Regions from separate parts of the Homo sapiens genome. Here regions 1 and 3 are each linked to region 2. Evidence: promoter capture Hi-C in human tissues and cell types (Jung and others, 2019). All regions are on one chromosome and are shown on one strand. Each heading gives the region's core, a stretch centred on a gene start or on the middle of the fragment in contact. The rest is flanking DNA. Distances are from core to core; before and after follow the strand shown. Region 1 overlaps NR6A1 (nuclear receptor subfamily 6 group A member 1). Region 2 holds the start of NR6A1 (nuclear receptor subfamily 6 group A member 1). Region 3 overlaps NR6A1 (nuclear receptor subfamily 6 group A member 1).

Region 1 (2,737 bases), core at 174-2,673, 180 kb before region 2:
CTCTTTGAAACTCATTTCAATTCAAGCCACATTAAGCATGTTCTGGGCACTCTTGACAGTTTTCTTATTTAATTCCCATAGCGGTCCTGTGAGATAGGTATTACTATCCTCTGTTGCATATATAAGGAAATTGAGGTTCATAGAGGTCAAGTGACTTGGCCAAGTGACAGAGTCAAGCTGATGAGGTTCTTTCTCCAACACCAGGAAGCCTGTAGCAAAGCCATATACGTAGCCAAGTTTTTATGAGCCATCTGGGCAACAGGGGACGAGTCCTTGCCACACAGACCAAGGGATCCATCCAGAGGCAACAGAAGCAGCAGTAGTTTTTGTTTTTTTGTTTTAATGGTTTAAAAATCCTACAGGAATTCTGATTGGTCCCACTAACAATCCATCGAGGCTCACCAGCCGGTTGACTCCTGACCTTCCATGCTTCTCATCCTAATTAATGCAAGGTCCTTGGATCACAGTGTGAGCATCAAGACCCTGTTAGAGTTAGCAATGACCTTTACATCTATCAGGCTTTTCAAAATATGTAAAACAGCTGTGCAGTGTGAACACCTCCCCCACCCCCCACCACACACCCTGACCAACTCTTAACCTTGAAATATGGGTAGATGCATTTTTCCTAATTATAGCGTTTTCCCCAAGTTTTTAGGAAATGACTTTTCACACAGCTAAAAACCATTTGAGATGTAGCTTTTCAATTGCCCAAGCAAACTACTGAGGCATGCAAAAAGAAGATTCTTGCAAATAGATTAATTTCCTCGGCTTAAAAAGAAACCCCAGTAGCAGGGGAACAGAAAAAAACGAATGATGTGAAAAAATTGGTGGTCGCGGGGTGGGAGATTGTTTGGTTGCCATATTTGTGCCTCTGATATCCTTTTGTTCTCCCACCTCATTGTATTAAGGATGCTAAATCAAACATGATTGCAGCGATGTTTGTGTGTGAAAATGACAAAAGCAATGGGCCAAAATCCCAACCTCATCTTGAACCCTGAGGACTTTTATGGCTTTTCCTTCACTAGGCCCTCCCCCTAATACACATTAAAGACCACATTGTTCAAAAGGGTCATGGTAGGTTTCATACCCCATTTTAACACAACGGAAATGGTAACTGAATTTCCAAGTTTTGTTAGTAATATTTGTATGTCCATGGAAAATGTCCATTAAAATAATCGATTCTTTGGTTTAAATATTAATGGAGAATTACAATATATCAGAGGGGCAGAATCAATTGTGTCAAGGAGGTACTGTTTGCGGTGATTAAATCAGATTTTCTTCCTGTACATCATTTTCCCCAGCAAAAGGGTACCGATTAGAGATGGGTTAAAAATATCCAGATGATGTGAGGCATCCAGATATTTTTCCTAGCCTCAAAATTGTCCAGATTATGTCAGTTTTCAACTCAAGAAGCCTAGAATAAACTAAACTTGCTAATTTCAAGCGCAGGTCTCCCCGCCTCCCCTTATTCCATTTGTCTGTCTGCAAGCCACATTATGGACCCCCAGTTCATTTATGCATTTATTCCTGGAAGATTTCAAGTTGGGAGAAGACTATTTAAGGCTGTTTAGGATTCCATTTTTCTCAGCTGTTACCAGTCAGTTGTCACCAGTACTTTGGAAGTTTAGTAGAAGAAAGGTGGCAATGACTCCATTACTCTTTCCAAATGCCATAAAGAATTTGCATCAAGAAAGTACCTAATGAATTAATGCCTTAGTCCTCTGGAAAAGGATACAGTAAAACAGGAATGTTACAGGGTTTGGGAAAGGGGAATCTGAAAAATGAAAATCTGGGCTGGAGTAAAAGAATAACAAACTTGGTAGTGTTTTAAATATCACAATTTCATTGGCGGAACTGCTCACTTTCCCAAGCTCAGGTGTTTTTGCTTAACACCCATATAACATGTATTAAGATGTGGCACGATATCACAACTTTAGTGCATTTAAAAATCAAATCTACAATTTTTGTAGAGTTCTTGACTATAAGTCTGGTTTAAATTATCTCAAAATAACACACTAGGAACATCTGTTTAGCTCAGTTGAAGTTTCGAGAGCCAATACCAGCTGTTCGGGGAGGGATTTCGCACATGTGTTACTCAAATCCTAACCAAATCTTAGTTTTTTCATTCCCTTAATGATGCCTCCAAAACCAACAGGGTAAAGCAAACATTAGAATAAAAAAGAAGAGAAAAAGGGAGGGAGGAAGAGAGCAGAGAGGGGGAGAGAGAGAAGAAAAAAGATTACTTACTCAATGCTTTGATGCATGTGACCAAGACCCAAATGATCACCCTCTCCAATTCAATACAGTATTAGCATGAGGACAAAAGGCATTTAAAAATCAATTTGGAGTTATTTTTAGTGGGGGTTGCCTAATCTTTGCAAGTTGAGGAATGAGAATATTCCCCAACGTTGAAAGGGCACTCAAGTATTTTTCTCCTTTAAGCGGCAATCTAATTTTCACAGAGAATTCATTCGGTGTCATTGTTTTGGTTTTAGGTGTCTGTCCTGCCAGGCAGGGGCTGTGCACAAGGGCTGCATCTATCTTGAAGTGTGCACAATGGCCTCTCTTACGGCTCTCTCTCTCTCTCTGTTATTGATCCTTACAGATGCTCCAAAGCCCTTCCCCCACCTTTCTCCAAATCCCAACCCCCATTCTGAAAGATAGCTTAAGAAATAAGACTTCCTGCCTAGCGACTGGCAGGGCTGAAAGACCAGATTGTATGACTCCACAGATCAGG
Region 2 (2,700 bases), core at 28-2,527:
CCCGGCCCGGGCGAGGGGGCGAGGGACGAGCGGTAGGAAGGGCCGGGCCAGGTGAGGGATTCTCAGCTCCCAAGGTCCCGGATCGGGACAAGAAAGAGGAGAACTGAGACTAAGAGGTGGGGACCGGGACCTGCCGGGCAGAAGCCGGGAGGAGGCAGGTGTCCGGGGCCCCGGGGCGGGCTGGAGCCCTCGGCCAGGGAAAGCCGTTGCCTGGCGGAGAGGGGAGCTGAGCAGGGGCGGAGACCGGCCAGAGCGCGCGGGGCGTTGAGGAAGGTGAGGCGCAGGGGAAGCAGGAGGCGCGAAGGGGTCCGAAAAAGGAAACGACTGGGGGATGTCTAGCGAACGGGGGTTCGGCAGAGGTGGGGGGCTCGTAGTATTCAAGGAAGAACGCTCGAGGCTGCAGAAGAGGAAAACGCTCTAGAAAGCTGAGCGGTACAAGGGTGCTGTGGAGTCGGGTCAACAGGGCAAGAAGGGAGCGTCCTCGGTGGGAGGAGGAACCCCTGTAGGGGAAAAGAGAGGCTCTGCGTTAAGGGAACCCGAGTGAGGGGATGCCCCCACTGACGGACCGCGGTGGGGACTTCCAACCTGAGGAGCCCGGGGGGAGGGGAAGGTTCGGTGCTGGGAAGACAGGGGGAGGGGACCCGGGGGGAGGAGGGAGGATTGGTGCTGAGGGGACGGGGGGAGGGGAAGCCTGTGCAGAGGGGACGGGGGGAGGGGGAAATGAAGCTCGGTGCCCAGGGACCCGGGCAGGGGGAGGGTCCGCGCAGAAGGGAACAGGGACGAAGGAGGAGGATCCACCCTGAGCGAGACCGGGGAGGAGAGGGAGGGTCCGCGCCAACGGGGAACGGGGTGAAGGGCCACCCTAAGGGGCCGCGGGGCCGCTGCGGCTTCCCAGGGCGAGGGTCGGCAGAGAGGAGGGGGATCCCTGGCGGAGGCTCAGGAAGCCGGTTCCTGCCTGGCCCGGGCGTCGCAGGCCCCTCACCCACCGTTGCGCGGCGGCGGAGGGAGCGCGGCGGGAGGCTCCAGGAACCCCGCCGAGCCCCCGCCGCCTCCCCCTCCGCTAGGCGGCGGTTCGTCCCGCTCCATGCGGTGGTGCCTAGGGTCCGCGCCGGGTTTGTTGCTCCGCCATGACCGGCGCCCTAGTCGCCGTGGTCGTCGTCCGCCGAGGGGAGGAGGTTGTCAGGAGCCCGCGAGCTCCCGGCCGCGGCTCTCTCTGGGCCCCGAGCCGCCCGGCTCCGCGCCGCTCCGCGCCCCTCCGCGCCGCGCCCCCTCAGCACTGGCCAGCTCCCTCCCCTGACGTCACACGCCGCTGCCGCGCAAGGCCCTGCGGGGCACGCTGGAAGTTGGAGTCCGCTCAGCGAGGCCGGCCACGCCGACCGCACCAACTGAAGGGGTGGAAGGAGGGATAAGAAGTCCTGAGAAGGGAAAGCTAAAGTCTGTCAATATCAAGAACCATGACAAAGCGTTTGATGTCTATGTAGTAAGCGGATACTTCCGGGCCTTGTCTTGATTGTGATTTCTACCTGATCAAAGTTCCCTAAGAGTCCTCGTAACCCCCCACCCCAACAATGAGTCTTTGCGAGGAGGTGGATCGCGAGGCAGCCGGGTGAGCACGTGCAACGAAGCCCAGCCCTGTGGGCGGGGCCCTGGAGGCGGGGCTTGAAGGTACTCACGTGGGCCTCTCCCTGCCGCTGCGGGACAAATTGGACCGGAGATTAAAGGACCGGAGTTTAACTCGAGGTGACTGCGTTCGTATGCAAATGGAATATATAAAACTCTTCTTTCCGGGGTAGTCTTTAAAGACTTTTTACCTCCGGGTGGGCGGCAAAGACTAAAGTTTCCCCTCCTCCCCTTTCATTTTCCCCCTGCCCATAGAACAGATGGGCAAACTAAGCTCCGGGCCATTGGGGCTATTAAAGAAAGCCCTAGGCTCTTGACCCCAGGTGTCTTGAAACCTTCCGTTTAAGAGGGATCCCTTGCCCAGCCTTGTTTGCCTTCCCCTTTCCTCAGTTTCCCTATCTGTAAAAGGGGGTTGGAATAAGGACAGGATCAAGTTGGAAGATCGCAAACCCCTGCCCCTCCCACCTCAGTTTCCCGAAGCTTTCCGGAAGCAAAATCCCGAATTTTGCAGCGGCTCCCGGCCGAATCCACCCGCTGCGGCCACCAGGTGGCGCGCGGCCACCGGTCACTAGGCCCGCCGGGGTGTCCGTCTTCGGCGACCCCATCGGGAAAGGATTTCGCTGCTGCCGCCAAGGGTCTAAGGCCTACCTGGCCCACTTGAAGACAAAGAACGAGAACGTTGGTGCTTTGCCCACTTCTGCTCTGCCGGATTATGCTGCAGCTTCCTCGGTGGCCGCTCATTCGCCCTCTCCTGCCCCACCCGCCCCACCAATCCCTTAGCCCTTTTATTTTTTTTTTGCCTAATTTTAAGTCCTCGTCCTGGCATTCGCATCCCTGCTTGGCCTGACCCTTGCCCACATTTCGCACCATACCCCGTCCCTCACCTGCTACGAAAGTTGCAACGCTTCTCTGCACTTGGGGGCAACTGGACCTTACCAACCCTGGTGAAACTGTATTTCATACGTAATCTGGGAGACTTACATTAACGCTCTGCCGTCTAAACCTCATACCTGCTCTATGAGATAGCAACAATATTGTCCCTTTCCAGCACTGATGAAGTCCACCAGAAGTGATGGGGAT
Region 3 (2,839 bases), core at 138-2,637, 230 kb before region 2:
CCACATCTAAATTTTTTTTTTTTTTTTTTTTGAGACGGAGTCTCACTCTGTCACCCAGAGCTGGAGTGCAGTGGCGCAATCTCGGCTCACCGCAACCTCAGCTCGCTGCAACCTCCACCTCCTGGGTTCAAGCAATTCTCCTGCCTCAGCTTACTGAGTAGCTGCGATTACAGGCGTGTGCCACCACACCCAGCTAATTTTTGTATTTTTAGTACACACGGGGTTTCACCATGTTGGCCAGCTCGTCTGGAACTCGTGACCTGGTGATCCGCCCACCTAGGCCTTCCAAAGTGCTGGGATTACAGGCATGAGCCACCACGCCCGGCTTCCTACATCTAGATTTACAAAGGGTTTGTGTGACCTCCTTGTGGGTAGATATTTTAATCTCCTCTTCTGAAACTGGAGACTAGCTTAAGAAATCTCAGGATACCTTCCTGGGAGGTCTAAGCTTGATAACACTCAAATCGTTTATGCTCTAGGCCAAAGGAGTAATGGATGCAGCAATGGGTAGGCCCGAAGGCTGAACTGTTATCTCCTCAGGTAGAAGTGACTAAAGACTGAAAGAATACTCCTTCTACCCACTCAAGCCTGCACTTAAAGTGGTCACATGCCACCAGGCTAGCCATGGGGATGCTGGTGAGGGGTGCAGACAGGCTACAACCAGCCAGGGCTTTGTGAAGGAGCCTATATCCGATATATAACTATTCCCAGAATTACTGCTCATCTCTAGCATGGAAGTGCTCTGACCCATCCCAGCACCTGGCTTACCTAGGCCCAAGCAGAATCAAAGGCCCTTCTATCTCAATTCCATAGGAACTGGAAAGTAACCTCAACTCTATGAGAAAGGATGCTTAAGGAAAAAATAAGGGATCACTGGTTTCAAAGATAAGCACAGATTTGTCCCCTGACACTTGAGTCATTATCCCCCCAACTCATTCTGAAGCCACGGGTATAGGAGCCAGGGACGCGAGTGGGTGTGGGGTAGGGACACTTTGAGACTGCAAGGGGCCAAGAAGGGCGGAGCTCACTCACCCATCTTCAATCAACATGGGCGTGCCCAATGGTTCCAGGTCCTCGGCTGATAACAGCTGGTGAATCAGACTGTATGACTGGGGATCCAGGCTGCGAGCTTGTTGGGGCAGAAGTGGTGAGTGGCCAGAATAGCTAAAAAGGTGCGGTATATATTGGTAATGTGGAGGCACAGACATTCCCATGTACTGTTCCCTGAAGGCCATGAATCCATTCAGTTCCACAGACCTACTGGAGAGAAAAGTCTTGCGTCAAACAGAGCCATGGCAAGTCTAGTAATTACTCAAAGGAAGTGAGCCAGAAGGTGACTTTAGGTATTCTTTGAACATGAGGTATGTGTCTTCATCAAGCCAGGGGGCATAATTAATAGTTAAATTCATGTCTCTCCTACTAGATTCCCATCTGTAAGACAAAGACTCTATGGGTATATGAATGTTGGGGTCGCCACTGGACACTCAGTGCATGGCAGAGTAGGTAATGAATAAATATTGGTTGAATGAATTCTTTGTATAGGTGCCATGTCTGGACAGTTTTTTAACAGATACTTGTAGACTATGATGACAAAGTAGGTATTTATATTATAATACTGCTAGGAAAACTAAGGCACAGACAGGCTAAGTCCTGGCTAGGCCACAAAACAAATCCAGCATCTAGCAAGGAACCCGGCATGTGGCAACAACCCCCTAAATAGTCCAAGGAAAGAACAAACGAAGGGGCACCTGAATGGGATAAAAGCTTTAATTAAATATGAAGACAAAGGTAGATTTTTGCCTTCCTTTCCTTTCTTGGAGAAAGCTAACCACTCTGTCAACTAATTAAAAAAAAAAAAAAAACCTAAGCCAGCCACAGTGGTGTGCACCTACAGTTTCAGCTACTTGGGAGGCTGAGGTGGAAGGATCACTTAAGGCTAGGAATTTGAGACAAGCCTGGGCAACATAGCAAGACTCCATCTCTTTTTTTAAAAAAAAAAGTATTTAATTAACAACGACAACAACAAAAAAAGACAGAGTCTTGCCATGTTGCCTAGGCTGGTCTTGAACTCCTGGACTTAAGCAATCTACCCACCTTGACCTCCCAAAGTGCTGGGAATACAGATGTGAGCCACCATGCCTGGCATCTCTTAAGAAAAAAAAAAATCTTCCAGCTTTTGCCTAAATGTATCTCCTATAACTGGGGTTGGCAAACTTTGGCTTGCAAGCTAAATCCAGCCCACTGCCTATTTTGGAACACAGCCATGCTCACTGGTTCACATAATGTCCATGGCCATAGCTGTTTTCACACTACAAAGGCAGAATGGAGAAGCTGAGATCCAAACCATTAGGCCCGGAAAGCTGAAAATATTTACTATCTGGCCTTTGCAGAAAAAGTTTGTCAATCCATATCCTATAAGAAAGGTTTCTGGGGAAAGGAAAGCTTCCCTAATAGCTGAAGGATCTATTTCACACTCGACAACTAACTAAAGATATGCTTGAACCAAGAGTTTCTAAGTTTGTATTCTCTGATAGCAGCAAATTTGACTGGCTTAAAAAGCCTTCAATGTTTCTTAAAATTTATAAAGTGAAAAACATTGACTCTTGTGAGGCAGAGAAATTACAGTTTAATTCAAAACTGTCAAAAAGGTTTATTTCAGTGATAAAATAAATGAGGGAAAATGGCAACATTTAAAATGTTATTCTGTTAGGTGAAGAATGCACGGGCATGGATAGAAGCTATAGCACTTTATCAGTCTGCAGAAGAGACCACTGACATTTTCAAGGTCTTTAGCATAAAAGGGGCTGGGAAACACTGTTTTTAATCTTCCTGACCCCTA

Evidence for each region. The method cuts DNA at HindIII sites, captures the fragments that hold promoters and counts their contacts. A contact is called where the count stands out against the background at its distance.
Region 1: a fragment that was not itself captured here is called in contact with the fragment with the promoter of NR6A1 in region 2 in 1 of the 25 tissues and cell types used here (lymphoblastoid cells).
Region 3: a contact is called between a fragment that was not itself captured here and the fragment with the promoter of NR6A1 in region 2, in 1 of the 25 tissues and cell types used here (dorsolateral prefrontal cortex).

The regions. Positions count from the first base shown.
Region 1 is chr9:124,591,223-124,593,959 of GRCh38, forward strand. All of the region lies in intron 2 of NR6A1 (nuclear receptor subfamily 6 group A member 1), which reads right to left. Among named protein-coding and RNA genes, the nearest start is that of MIR181A2HG, 66 kb to the right of the region's middle. The HindIII fragment of the contact is 3,555 bases long and covers 1-2,737 here.
Region 2 is chr9:124,770,034-124,772,733 of GRCh38, forward strand. It overlaps NR6A1 (nuclear receptor subfamily 6 group A member 1), which reads right to left and starts at 1,278. Exons shown (of 10, transcript NM_033334.4): 1 at 987-1,278. The coding sequence starts at 1,086. LOC124900274 (a long non-coding RNA gene) reads right to left here and starts at 447. Exons shown (of 2, transcript XR_007061773.1): 1 at 1-447. LOC107987126 (a long non-coding RNA gene) reads left to right here and starts at 1,324. Exons shown (of 2, transcript XR_001746926.3): 1 at 1,324-1,740; 2 at 2,669-2,700. RefSeq lists silencers at 1-227, 768-1,347 and enhancers at 1,060-1,627, 1,418-1,677. The HindIII fragment of the contact is 6,332 bases long and covers 1-2,700 here.
Region 3 is chr9:124,537,060-124,539,898 of GRCh38, forward strand. NR6A1 (nuclear receptor subfamily 6 group A member 1) reads right to left here. Exons shown (of 10, transcript NM_033334.4): 6 at 1,033-1,260. Among named protein-coding and RNA genes, the nearest start is that of NR5A1, 31 kb to the left of the region's middle. The HindIII fragment of the contact is 3,760 bases long and covers 1-2,839 here.